Regions from separate parts of the Homo sapiens genome. Here regions 1, 2 and 4 are each linked to region 3. The links are contacts of gene promoters, found by promoter capture Hi-C in human tissues and cell types (Jung and others, 2019). All regions are on one chromosome and are shown on one strand. Each heading gives the region's core, a stretch centred on a gene start or on the middle of the fragment in contact. The rest is flanking DNA. Distances are from core to core; before and after follow the strand shown.

Evidence for each region. The method cuts DNA at HindIII sites, captures the fragments that hold promoters and counts their contacts. A contact is called where the count stands out against the background at its distance.
Region 1: a fragment that was not itself captured here is called in contact with the fragment with the promoter of AQP8 in region 3 in 1 of the 25 tissues and cell types used here (aorta).
Region 2: a contact is called between a fragment that was not itself captured here and the fragment with the promoter of AQP8 in region 3, in 1 of the 25 tissues and cell types used here (dorsolateral prefrontal cortex).
Region 4: a contact is called between a fragment that was not itself captured here and the fragment with the promoter of AQP8 in region 3, in 1 of the 25 tissues and cell types used here (dorsolateral prefrontal cortex).

Annotation. Positions count from the first base shown.
Region 1 is chr16:23,791,120-23,793,819 of GRCh38, reverse strand. No RefSeq gene overlaps it. Among named protein-coding and RNA genes, the nearest start is that of CHP2, 37 kb to the right of the region's middle. The HindIII fragment of the contact is 5,063 bases long and covers 1-2,700 here.
Region 2 is chr16:27,115,702-27,118,401 of GRCh38, reverse strand. No RefSeq gene overlaps it. Among named protein-coding and RNA genes, the nearest start is that of C16orf82, 50 kb to the right of the region's middle. The HindIII fragment of the contact is 3,082 bases long and covers 1-2,700 here.
Region 3 is chr16:25,215,543-25,218,242 of GRCh38, reverse strand. AQP8 (aquaporin 8) reads right to left here and starts at 1,296. Exons shown (of 6, transcript NM_001169.3): 1 at 1,186-1,296; 2 at 798-1,045. The coding sequence starts at 1,197. The HindIII fragment of the contact is 27,087 bases long and covers 1-2,700 here.
Region 4 is chr16:26,507,117-26,509,816 of GRCh38, reverse strand. No RefSeq gene overlaps it. Among named protein-coding and RNA genes, the nearest start is that of LINC02195, 87 kb to the left of the region's middle. The HindIII fragment of the contact is 3,334 bases long and covers 1-2,700 here.

The DNA of each region.
Region 1 (2,700 bases), core at 81-2,580, 1.4 Mb after region 3:
GGGGACTCTGTCTCCTCCTATAAATATCCAGTAGTGCATCTCGGAAGAAGCAGCTGATGTGTTTCATATGCAAGTCATGTGGGCCTGGCTTTATGAGAATCGCGATATTCACCAGCTGAATGTGCTCATTGCCAAGGTCATAGTAAATGCTGTGGTTAAGGGCACCCCTGTAATGTGGATGCCCCGTATAACCTTGCTGCTGCAAAATCAAAAGGTAGTTCAAGAAGCCTTATCATGTTTTCTGGGCCAGTCACGGTGGCTTATGCCTGTAATCCCAGCACTTTGGGAGGCCTAGGTGGGCAAATCATTTGAGGTCAGGAGTTCAAGACCAGCCTGGCCAACATGGTGAAACCCCGTCTCTACTAAAAATACAAAGAAAACTTAGCAGGGCTTGGTGGCACATGCCTGTAGTCCCACTACTCAGGAGGCTGATGCAGGAAAATCGCTTGAACCTGGGAGGCAGAGGTTGCAGTCAGCTGAGATCACACTGCACTCCAGGCTGGGTGACAGAGAGAGACTCAGTCTCAACAACAACAATAACAAAAATCAGATTAATTAATAAGAGAATGGGGAAATGCAGACAAGAAAGTCAAAGGATTCATCCCAGGAAGGTGGAAAACACCCTCGATGACTGGAGTGACATCAGAGAAACACTGTAATGAGTGTGACACTGTGCAGCAGAGATCCATGATGAAATGGAAATGGTTTAGCGGATCATTCTACCTGGGGAATGCGAGGAAGAAATACACGCAGAGAGCCTCTTTTCCCCTCAGATAGACTTTGGAATTGTGGGAGGCGTTGCTGGATTCTATTGTCACTTGGATAGTGCCCTACAAACAGTTCTCAAATAACAGCTGGTTGGGGCTGGGCATGGTGGCTCACGCTGGTAATCCCAACACTTTGGGAGGCTGAAGCAGGAAGATCGCTTGAGCCCAGGAGTTGGAGACCAGCCTGGGCAACATGGTAAGACCTCCTCTCTACAAACAATTTAAAAATTAGCCAAGTGCATGCCTGTGGTCCCAGCTACTCAGAAGGCTGAGGTGGGAGGATCGCTTGAGCCCAGGAGTTCAAGGCTGCAATGAGCCGTGTTCATGCCACTGCACTCCAGCCTGGGTGCCTGGGTGACAGAGTGAGACCCTGTCTCAAAACAAACAAACAAACAAACAAAAAAACTGCATGGAGTATGGGTGACAGTTCCAAGTTCCAAGATGAATAGACAACATCTTATTTGGAAAGATGCCACTCTGATCAAAGACAGTAAAAGCAAATCAGCTCAGTGGGCTGAATTGCATGGTGGTTTCCTAGCAGTGATGGAAAGATTGAACAGTAATAAAAAGTCTTTGTGTTTGGGTTTTTACTAACTCATGGGCAGTGGTCAGAGACCTAACCATACTCAGGCAGGAGGGCATGGAAACCTGGCCTATTAAAGAGATGCCCTTATAGGGGACAGCCCTATGGAAGTGTGAGAGTACATTAAAGTAAGACATGGGCTGCCCATCAGAAGAACCTCCTTCCGGGTTTGGAAGGTGATTGGAATCGACAAGCAGATATCCCCATTTGCTCCCTTGTGGGGGCCAGCTGGGTCTATGAGACAGGGCCCTGCAGCAGTGCAGAGACGGGCTGAATCTAGACAGGTTCTTCTTGTGCCCTCTGAGGTACAAAATGCCAGTGAGACTGTTCTGTTTGTCAGCAAGAGAGACAGAAGCTGCTGAGGGCTATGGAAAAGATTCCTTGGTGGGAAGGCCCTGAACGTAGCTGGCAAGTGAGACCGACACTGGTAGCCCTGGGGGACCACAAGTGGGTCTTGACAATAATAGACACTGACTCTGCACTGGGCCTTGCTTACCCAATGGAAGATGCAACTATTCACGATGCCATTAAAAAACAGGATCAAAAATAGTACATGGATTTGGGCAGCTAACTGTCATTTCTTCAGACCAAGGGGCACACTGTACAGGCTGAAATGTCCAGCAATGGGCAAAGAGACATTCTCCTAGAGAAGTGGAGCTGGCTATTAAAATTTATTAGGGCTGGACATGGCGGCTCACACCTATAATCCCAGCAATTTGGGAGGCCAAGGCAGGAGAATCACTTGAACCCAGGAGTTCGATAAAAGCCTGGAAAACATAGTGAGACCTCGTCTCTATAAAAATAAGAAAAAAAATTAGCCAGGTGTGGTGGCATGTGCCTGTAGTCCCAGCTGCTTGGCAGGCTGAGGCAAGAGGATTGCTTGAGCCCAAGAGGTGGAGTCTATAGTGAGCCATGATCACGCCACTACATTCCAGCCTGGGCAACAGAGCAAGACTCTGTCTCCAAAAATAAAATTTAAAAATAAAAAATAAAACTTATTGGTTGTCTAAAATGGGTTAGGCTGGGCATGCTGGCCTATACCTGTAATCCCAGCACTTTGGGAGGCCGAGGATCACTTGAGGACAGGAGTTTAAGACCAGCCTGGGAAATACACAAAGACCCTCATCTGTACAAAAAGAAAAAAAAAATAGTCAAGTATGGTAGCACACATCACAGTCCTAGCTACTCAGGAGGCTGAGGCAGGAGGATCACTTGAGTCCAGGAATTCGAGGCTACAGTGAGCTACAGGCATGCCCCCACCACACCTGGCTAATTTTTGTATTTTCTTTGCAGAGACAAGGTTTCACCATGTTGCCCAGGCTGGTCTCAAACTCCTGGGCTCAAGCAATC
Region 2 (2,700 bases), core at 13-2,512, 1.9 Mb before region 3:
TGATAAGCTAAAAAAAAAAAAAAAGCGCCATGCATAAATCTCATAATGTTTTATGAAAGTTTTTGAATTTGTGTTGGGCCACATTCAAAGCCATTCTGGGCTGCATGTGGCCTGCAGGCTGCAGGCTGGACAAGCTTGGTTTAAGCTATTCTGACTGTTGTGAACATGTGGCCCCCACTTGGGAAATATTATCTTTGAAAAACTTTTTTTTTTTTTTTTTTTTTTGAAATGGAGTCTCATTCTCTTGCCCAGGCTGGAGTGCAGTGGTGCTATCTCAGCTCACTGCAACCTCTGCCCTCTGGGTTCAAGCAATTCTCCTGCCTCAGCCTCTCAAGTAGCTGGGATTACAGGTGCACGCCACCATGCCCGCCTAACTTTTGTATTTTTGGTAGAAATGGAGTTTTGCCATGTTGACCATGCTGGTCTCGAACTCCTGACCTCAAGTGATTTGCCCGCCTCAGCTTCCCAAAGTGCTGAGATTACAGGCGTGAACCACCACGCCCGGCCTTTCTTTGAAAAACTTTTGACTAATGTTGGGCCTTCTCAGTTGGGACCCTTATTTCCTTTCTCCTACTCTCCTCCCTTACTGTTTCCTATTCTTCTTCCTTCTCTCTTCCTCCTCCCCTCCCCATGCATTCAGCTAATTCCGTCTCTGATTACCCAACATCACTCTGGGCTCTGCTGGAAGACTCAGAGCCTATAAAGCTTCAGAGGGGCCTCAGTGTTATTTTAGTCAGGCAAACTCCACAGGTAGGAGTTACTTCTCCACACCTCTGACAGTGTCACTTGCATACCTGCAGGAATAGGAAACTCGCTTCCTTTCATGGTAGTCCTTTCCATCACTGGGCAGCTCCATCTAAGAGGCACTTTCTCTTGTGATTAATCAGACAACATTTACACCCCCAGTCATTTCTACTCTTCCCCATGCAGAGTTCTTGCAGAATAGCTGTCCCTGATAAGGACAGCCCTTCCGAGGCCCAGGAAGAAGTCTCAAGGCTTCTCAGGCTCATTCAAGTCGCAAGACACACACACACCCAATGGAGGATTCTGGCAACGTACCATGTGGTAGAAATGTCAGTCCACATCTCAGGTGCATGGGAAATATCACTCTCTTTATTCATTCACTTCACACTATGGTTGGGATGTTTGTCTCCTCCAAATCTCATGTTGAAATGTGATTCCCAATGTTAAAGGTGGTGCCTAGTGGGAAATGGGGGCAGATCCCTCATGAATGTCTTGGTGCCCTCCTGGTGGTAATGAGTGAGTTCTCATTCTATTCATGTGAGATCTGGCCGTTAAAAATTTAGAGCCTGGGAAAGATGGTGACCAGAGGCTGCGAAGGGTAGTGGGGGGTGCCGGTTGGTGGCGGGGAGGAGTTGGGAAGGCTAATGAGTACAAAAATAGTTAGAAAGAATGAATAAGGGCCAGGTGCAGTGGCTCATGGCTGTAATCCCAGCACTTTGGGAGGCCAAGGCGGGTGGATCACTTGAGGTCAGGAATTCAAGACCAGCCTTGCCAACATAGTGAAACCCCATCTCCACTAAAAATACAAAAATTAGCCAGGTGTGGTGGTGGGTGCCTGTAGCTCCAGCTACTCAGGAGGCTGATGCAGGAGAATCACTTGAACCTGGGAGGAGGAGGTTGTAGTGAGCTGAGGTCATGCCACTGCATTCCAGCCTGGGCAACAGAGCGAGACTTCATCTCAAAAAAAAAAAAAAAAAAAAAAAAAAAGGAGAATTAGACCTAGTATTTGATAGATTTGATAGCACAACAGTGTGACTATGGTCAATAATAATTTAATTACACATTTATAAATAACTAAAAGAGTGTAATTGGCTTGTTTGTAACACAAAGGATAAATGCTTCCAATGATGGATCCCCCGTTTACCTTGATAGGATTATTATGCATTGCCTGCCTGTATCAAAATCTCTCATGTACCCCATAAATATATACACTACTATGTACCCACAAAAGTTGAAAAATTAAAGGAAGAATAGAGTCTAGGACCTCCCATGTCTCTCTTGCTCCCTCTCATCATGTGACACGTTGGCTCCTCTTCCTCTCTGCCATGATTAAAAGCTTCCTGAGGCCTCACCAGAAACTGAGCAGATGCTGGCACCATGCTTGCACAGCCTGCAGAACCTTGAGCCAAATAAACCTCCTTTCTTTTAATAAATTACCCAGCCTCAGGTATTCCTTTACAGCAATGCAAAATGGACTAACAAAGTTCATAACCATGTTTAATTTGTGTCCATTCTTCCAATCAATTTAGGTTTCCTTACATTCCTTGGGGTTACCCCTAAGTTCGGCAGGGGCGGAGGTCAGGGTGTTGGGGAGGGGACATCCATGATTTTCTGAGATTCTCAGCCAGTCTTTGACGTCAGGCCATGCGTGCTGCTGTGGCGCTGTGTATAACTGCATCCAAGTCTGAGGGATGCTCCTTGCTGCCCTCGAATGCCAACTCCTGGGTGCATTGAGATCAGGTGGGTGCCCATGCTAAGTTCAATGAGATGCACTGGGAAGTTACTGAGCTTTTCTTTCCTTTTCTTTTTCTTTTCTTCCTTTTTTTTTTTCTTGTTTTTTTTGAGGCGGAGTCTCACTCTATCGCCTAGGCTGGAGTGCAGTGGCATCATCTCGGCTCACTGCAACCTCCACCTCCCAGGTTCAAGTGATTCTCCTGCCGCAGCCTCCTGAATAGC
Region 3 (2,700 bases), core at 47-2,546:
CCTAAAACCCCCTTCTAGTGGTAACAATAACACAGCAACCAATGCCTGTTGTATGTTTGGTGTGTGCCAGGCGCTCTACTTCATTTAATTCTCATGACTTCCGCATGAGGCACTTGGATTTGAGCGCTGGAGCCAGACAGCTTGTTCTTGACTCCCGCCTCTGCCACTTTCTGGCCCTCTAAGCTTGGACAGATTACATGGCCTTTCACTTTTGCAGCTGTACAATGGGGCTAATAACAGGACCTACCCCACAAGGCTTTTGTGAGGATTAAATAACTAATATCTATAAAGTAATTAGACTAGTGCCTGGTACATGGTTAGCAATATAGATATGTTGGCTTGAAAAAAAAAACATTTAAAAGCTACTATTCCCATTTTATAGGCGGGGAACTTTGGGTTTAGAGAGTAACTTGCCAGCCAGGCATGGTGTCTCATGCCTGTAATCCCAAAACTTTGGGAAGCCAAGGCAGGAGGATCGCTTGAGACCAGGAGTTCAAGACTAGCCTGGGCAACATAGTGAGACCCCATCTCTACAACAAAATTTAAAAATTAGTTGGGTGCTGCGGCGCATGCCTGTGATCCAGCTACTCAAAAAGAGAATGACTTGCTCAAAGTCACAAGCTCACAGGCTGCGGGGTCTGGAGTTGACCCCAGTCTGACTCCCAACCCCATAGTTATCCAGAGCGCTCCTTGAAATCCCGAATACGTATGCGCCCAGGGGTCCTTGACAACGCCTTTGCTTTCCACACCCAGTGCCCCAAGTCAGCATCAGGCTGAATCCTCAGAGCTGGTCTCACCTGATATTCCCCAGCGTGGCAATCACGAGCCCCAAAGCCAGCCCGTGGGCCAGGGCCGGCTGCAGCAGCCCAGTGTCCGTCCCATTCTCAATGACCGACAGGCACCCGATGAAGATGAAGAGAGCAGAGCCCAGCAGTTCGACCAGACATGGCTGCACAAACCGTTCGTACCAGGACACTCGCCACCTGCCACCCACGCTCGGCTCCCTGGCCTTGTCATTGCCAAATTCAGGCTCACACATGGCTATCTGCCGTAGGGAAAAAGGGACAGAGGACACGGGTGGGAGGCAAGTCCAGATATAGAAGGCCCCGACCCCCAACCTTGAATTAATTCACAGCCCCCCTTGCTCTGCCAGCCTGGAGAGGAAGATGCCGACAGAGGGCTCACCTCTCCAGACATCAGGATCAGATGGCACAAACATCGGACTCTTGCCTGAGCTGCTGGGAAACCTGCACCTGCTGTGCAAGATACTCTTATCTCCTAGGGACAGGACCTGCTGATCACACTATGGGCTCTGCCCCTTTTAAAGGGCTGCAGAGGCTCAATGCTGGTGCAGAGAAAGCAATAAACCTCAGGTAGGAGGCGGCTCTGAGGCCCAGAAGAGGAAATTTTTTTAAATCTCAACAGGGCAGGGTGAGGGAGTCAGGGATTGCTGAACTTTCCGCCAGTGAGGGAAAAACACGCCAGCTTGGCTGTGTCATCTGGGAGCACACTCCAGGCTGTAGAAGGTGGGAGATGGGTCCAGCACCCCAGCTCCCCACGGTCCAAAGCAGAACAGCACATGTTAGTGGGCCCCACTGGGTTGGAACCTCACATGTTAAGAAACAGCAAACAGCCAGGTGCAGTGGCTCACGCCTGTAATCCCAGCACTTTGGGAGGCCGAGGCAGGTGGATCACGAGGTCAGGAGATTGAGACCATCCTGGCTAACACGGTGAAACCCCGTCTCTACTAAAAATACAAAACTCAGCCGGGCGTGGTGGTGCACGCCTGTAATCCCAGCTACTTGGGGGGCTAAGGCAGGAAAATCATTTGAACCTGGGAGACGAAGATTGCGCAGAGCCAAGATTGTGCAACTGCACTCCAGCCTGGGCAACAGAGCAAGGCTCTGAAAAAAAAAAAAAAGGAAAGAGAAAGAAGAAAGAAAGACAGAGAAAGAAAGAAAGGAAAGAAAAGAAAGAAAGAAAGAAAGAAAGAAAGAAAGAAAGAAAGAAAGAAAGAAAGAAAGAAAAAGAAAGAAAGAAAGAAAGAAAGAAAGAAAGAAAGAAAGAAAGAAAGAAAGAAAAAGAAAGAAAAAGAAAGAAAGAAAAGAAGGAAGGAAAGAAAGAAAGAAAGAAAGAAAGAAAGAAAGAAAGAAAGAAAGAAAGAAAAAAGAAAAAGAAAGAAAAGAAGGAAGGAAGGAGAAAGAAAGAGAGGGCGTGTTGGTGTTTGCCTGTAATCCCAGCTACTCAGGAGGATGAGGCATGAGAATCACTTGAACCCAGGACCCAGAGGTTGCAGTGAGCCAAGATCGCGCCACTGCACTTCAGCCTCAGAGTGAGACCCTGTCTAAAAAAAAAAAAAAAAAAAAGAAAGAAAGAAAGAAAAAAGAAAAGAAAGAAACAGCAATCCCATTTTCAATTATTTTTCCAATGAGTCCCACAGCTTCAAACACCTGCAGTCACCGTGACAGCCTGAGCCAGGACTGAGTGTATAGATGACGATCCTTCACAGACAGAGGCAGCAGAGACTGGCAAGAGGTAATGCAATGCAGCGGCAAGACCCATGAACTTTGGAAATAGGCTGCCTGGCGTTCAATCCCAGCTCTGCTGTAAACTAGCTATGTAACCCTTGGGCACATGACTTGGCCTCTCTGGGCCTTTGTTTTCTCATCTGTTAGGTGTGGATGTTAGTGGTTTCACCAT
Region 4 (2,700 bases), core at 164-2,663, 1.3 Mb before region 3:
CATCTGAAATTATCCTTTCTCCATCCTTCCACTTTCAGAGCTCTGAGAATTCCAATGTCTTGAAAAGCCATCATTTTATTTTCTCCCAACTCCTCAGCCTCTGGCTGCAGCCTCCTTCATAGTGAACATCCTTCAAAGTGCTCCAGGGAAATGCCCAGAGAGAAGTAACTTTTTAGGTTTTTTTTGTTGGTTTGTTTGTTTTCCAGAACCAAATATTTAGGCTCTTCAGAGAATGGTCTTCCCCAGAGTACACAGAATCCTGCAGCTTGATTTGGCCTCAATCTGGTGCTCCCGATTTCAAGAAAGAATGTCACTGGAACCAAACCAATAAGTTATTTGAATCAAATTCCTACCCAGTACAAAGGCTGATTCCGCAACATCTCTGACAAGGAAGTCGCTCTGCCCCAACTTGAACATGGTTTAATGACAAGAGGCTCATTCCTTTTCCATCCCTACATGCCGTGTGGGCTTTGGAAGTCAATTTCTCACAATGAGCCCAAACCTACCCTTTTACAACTTCGATTCATTAGCCTGTTTCTATCACTTGGTCTATAGGTGATTAAGCAGTTCAGTTTTCTTTTTTTTTTTTTTCTCCTCCTCCTCTTCCACCTCTTCCTACCAGGCGCTGTCCAAAGATTTCACATATGATCTCACTTGAAATTTCATAGCAGCAAATAAATATGATGCAATTCACTCTGGGAAGCCAAGGCAGGTGGATCACCTGAGGTCAGGAATTCAAGATCAGCCTGGCCAACATGGTGAAACCCCATCTCTACTGAAAATACAAAAATGAGCTGGGTGTGGTGGTGGGCGCCTGTAATCCCAGCTACTCGGGAGACTGAGGCAGGAGAATTGCTTGAACCTGGGAGACAGAGGTTGCAGTGAGCCGAGATCATGTCACTGCACTCCAGCCTGGGAGACAGAGCGAGACTCCACCTCAAAATAAATAAATAAAATAAATTTGATACAATTAAGATTGGTACTTTACAAATGAGGAAATGCAGCGGTCAAGCAACCTCTTATCCCTATGTGATTTGTATTGGATTGCACACCTACTAACTGGAAAAGCCAATCTCACACTATAAGTTTATGCTCTTGACATCCATCCTATTGGAATTGAGGCCTAGGTTTAATGATATTGGATAGCTTATGATCAAGGACCCAGGAATACCCAAATATAAACACAATACTCCCTCTAATTTCACCATGAAGAGGCTAAGGAATATACACATGTAATCAAAACAGCATTAAAAAAAAATACTTGCACCAGTGCCAGTCCATTGAATTCAGAGCTCTGGTGAAAGTCTGAGTTGGGACACTCAGTTTATACTTGAGGCTTAATAGATACTTTGATTGATCTCAACCCAACATCAAGCCCCTCTTTTCCCTAAATCTAAGTATTAGGCTGGGAACAGTGGCTTATATCTATAATCCCAGCACTTTAGGAGGCTGAGGCAGCAGTATCCTGTGAGGCCAGGAGTTCAAGACCAGTCTCAGCAACATAACGAGACCCCCATCTCCACAAACATTTTTTTTTTAATTAGCCTGGCATGGTGGCACACACTTGTAGTCCCAGCTACTTGGGAGGTTGCGGCAGGAGGATTGCTTGAGCTCAGGAGGTCGAGGTTGCAGTGAACTATGATGGTGCCACTGCACTTCAGCCTGGGTGACAGAGTGAGACCTTGTGCTAAAAATACATACATACATACACACATAAAATTGGTAAACAGCCTCATGTGAGCCTATCTGCTGGTTATTCTGTAGCTGCCCCCCATACATTTTTCAGCCTTCTAAGCCATGCCTGGTACCCCAGGAGGCTGGACATATATATACCACATCACCGGGACCCCTTTACTGACTCGCTTCCCATTGAGATAAAACAACGACAGCACTTGCAGAAGCTCAGACAGTGGGAGGAAAAAGCAGCTGAGATGTTTTCCTCTGCCTCACCCCTGTTTTGGTGCCTTCGTATTTGTAGAAGTTCAGCGCGTCTATGGCTCCTTTAGCGCAGCCCCCTTCTCCATGGCTCCATGTCTCATTGAGCTCTCAAATGCCAGTTTCTTACCTTGCACTTTCCAGCTTTGGGAAGTAGTGTTGGAGTCTCATTTTTGCTGGTCCCTTGGTGTCTCATTATCTTTTGTGGATTTCCTGAACCCTCCCCACACCTCCATAAATAATATCTTTATTAAAGGTTTGAGCCATTGGGAATGGAATTCTATTTTCTATCAGGGCCATGATAAGTCACACACATAGCCTATGTAAGAAAAAGCTGGCTAAATCTCTAGAGCAAACCTGAATTTACTTACCCATTCATTGATACTGAGTCAGAAAGAGAGAGAGAGGGGGTCTCAAGGGAATCCTTGACTTAGCTTATGCATTTAGACATAAAAAGTGAGAAAAAGAAGGAGCACCATACATAGGCAGTACCTACCTGTTACAACTCAATGAACCCACCACCCGCTGGCAACCATGGACTGATCCAAATAGCAACCTCTGCAGCTTTGGGCAGGGATATGGAAGGTAAGCTTGCCAAGAGGAGAGATGTCTAAGACTCCCCTCCCATCATTTGTAACATTTTCTCTATGACAATTATTTGAACCATGAAAAAATGCCAAACCAGGCCCATTGACTGACTAATTGATTGTTACAGGTCTGGTACCTTCTACTGCTCCTTATTTGATTAGATTCTAGGTGCCTCAC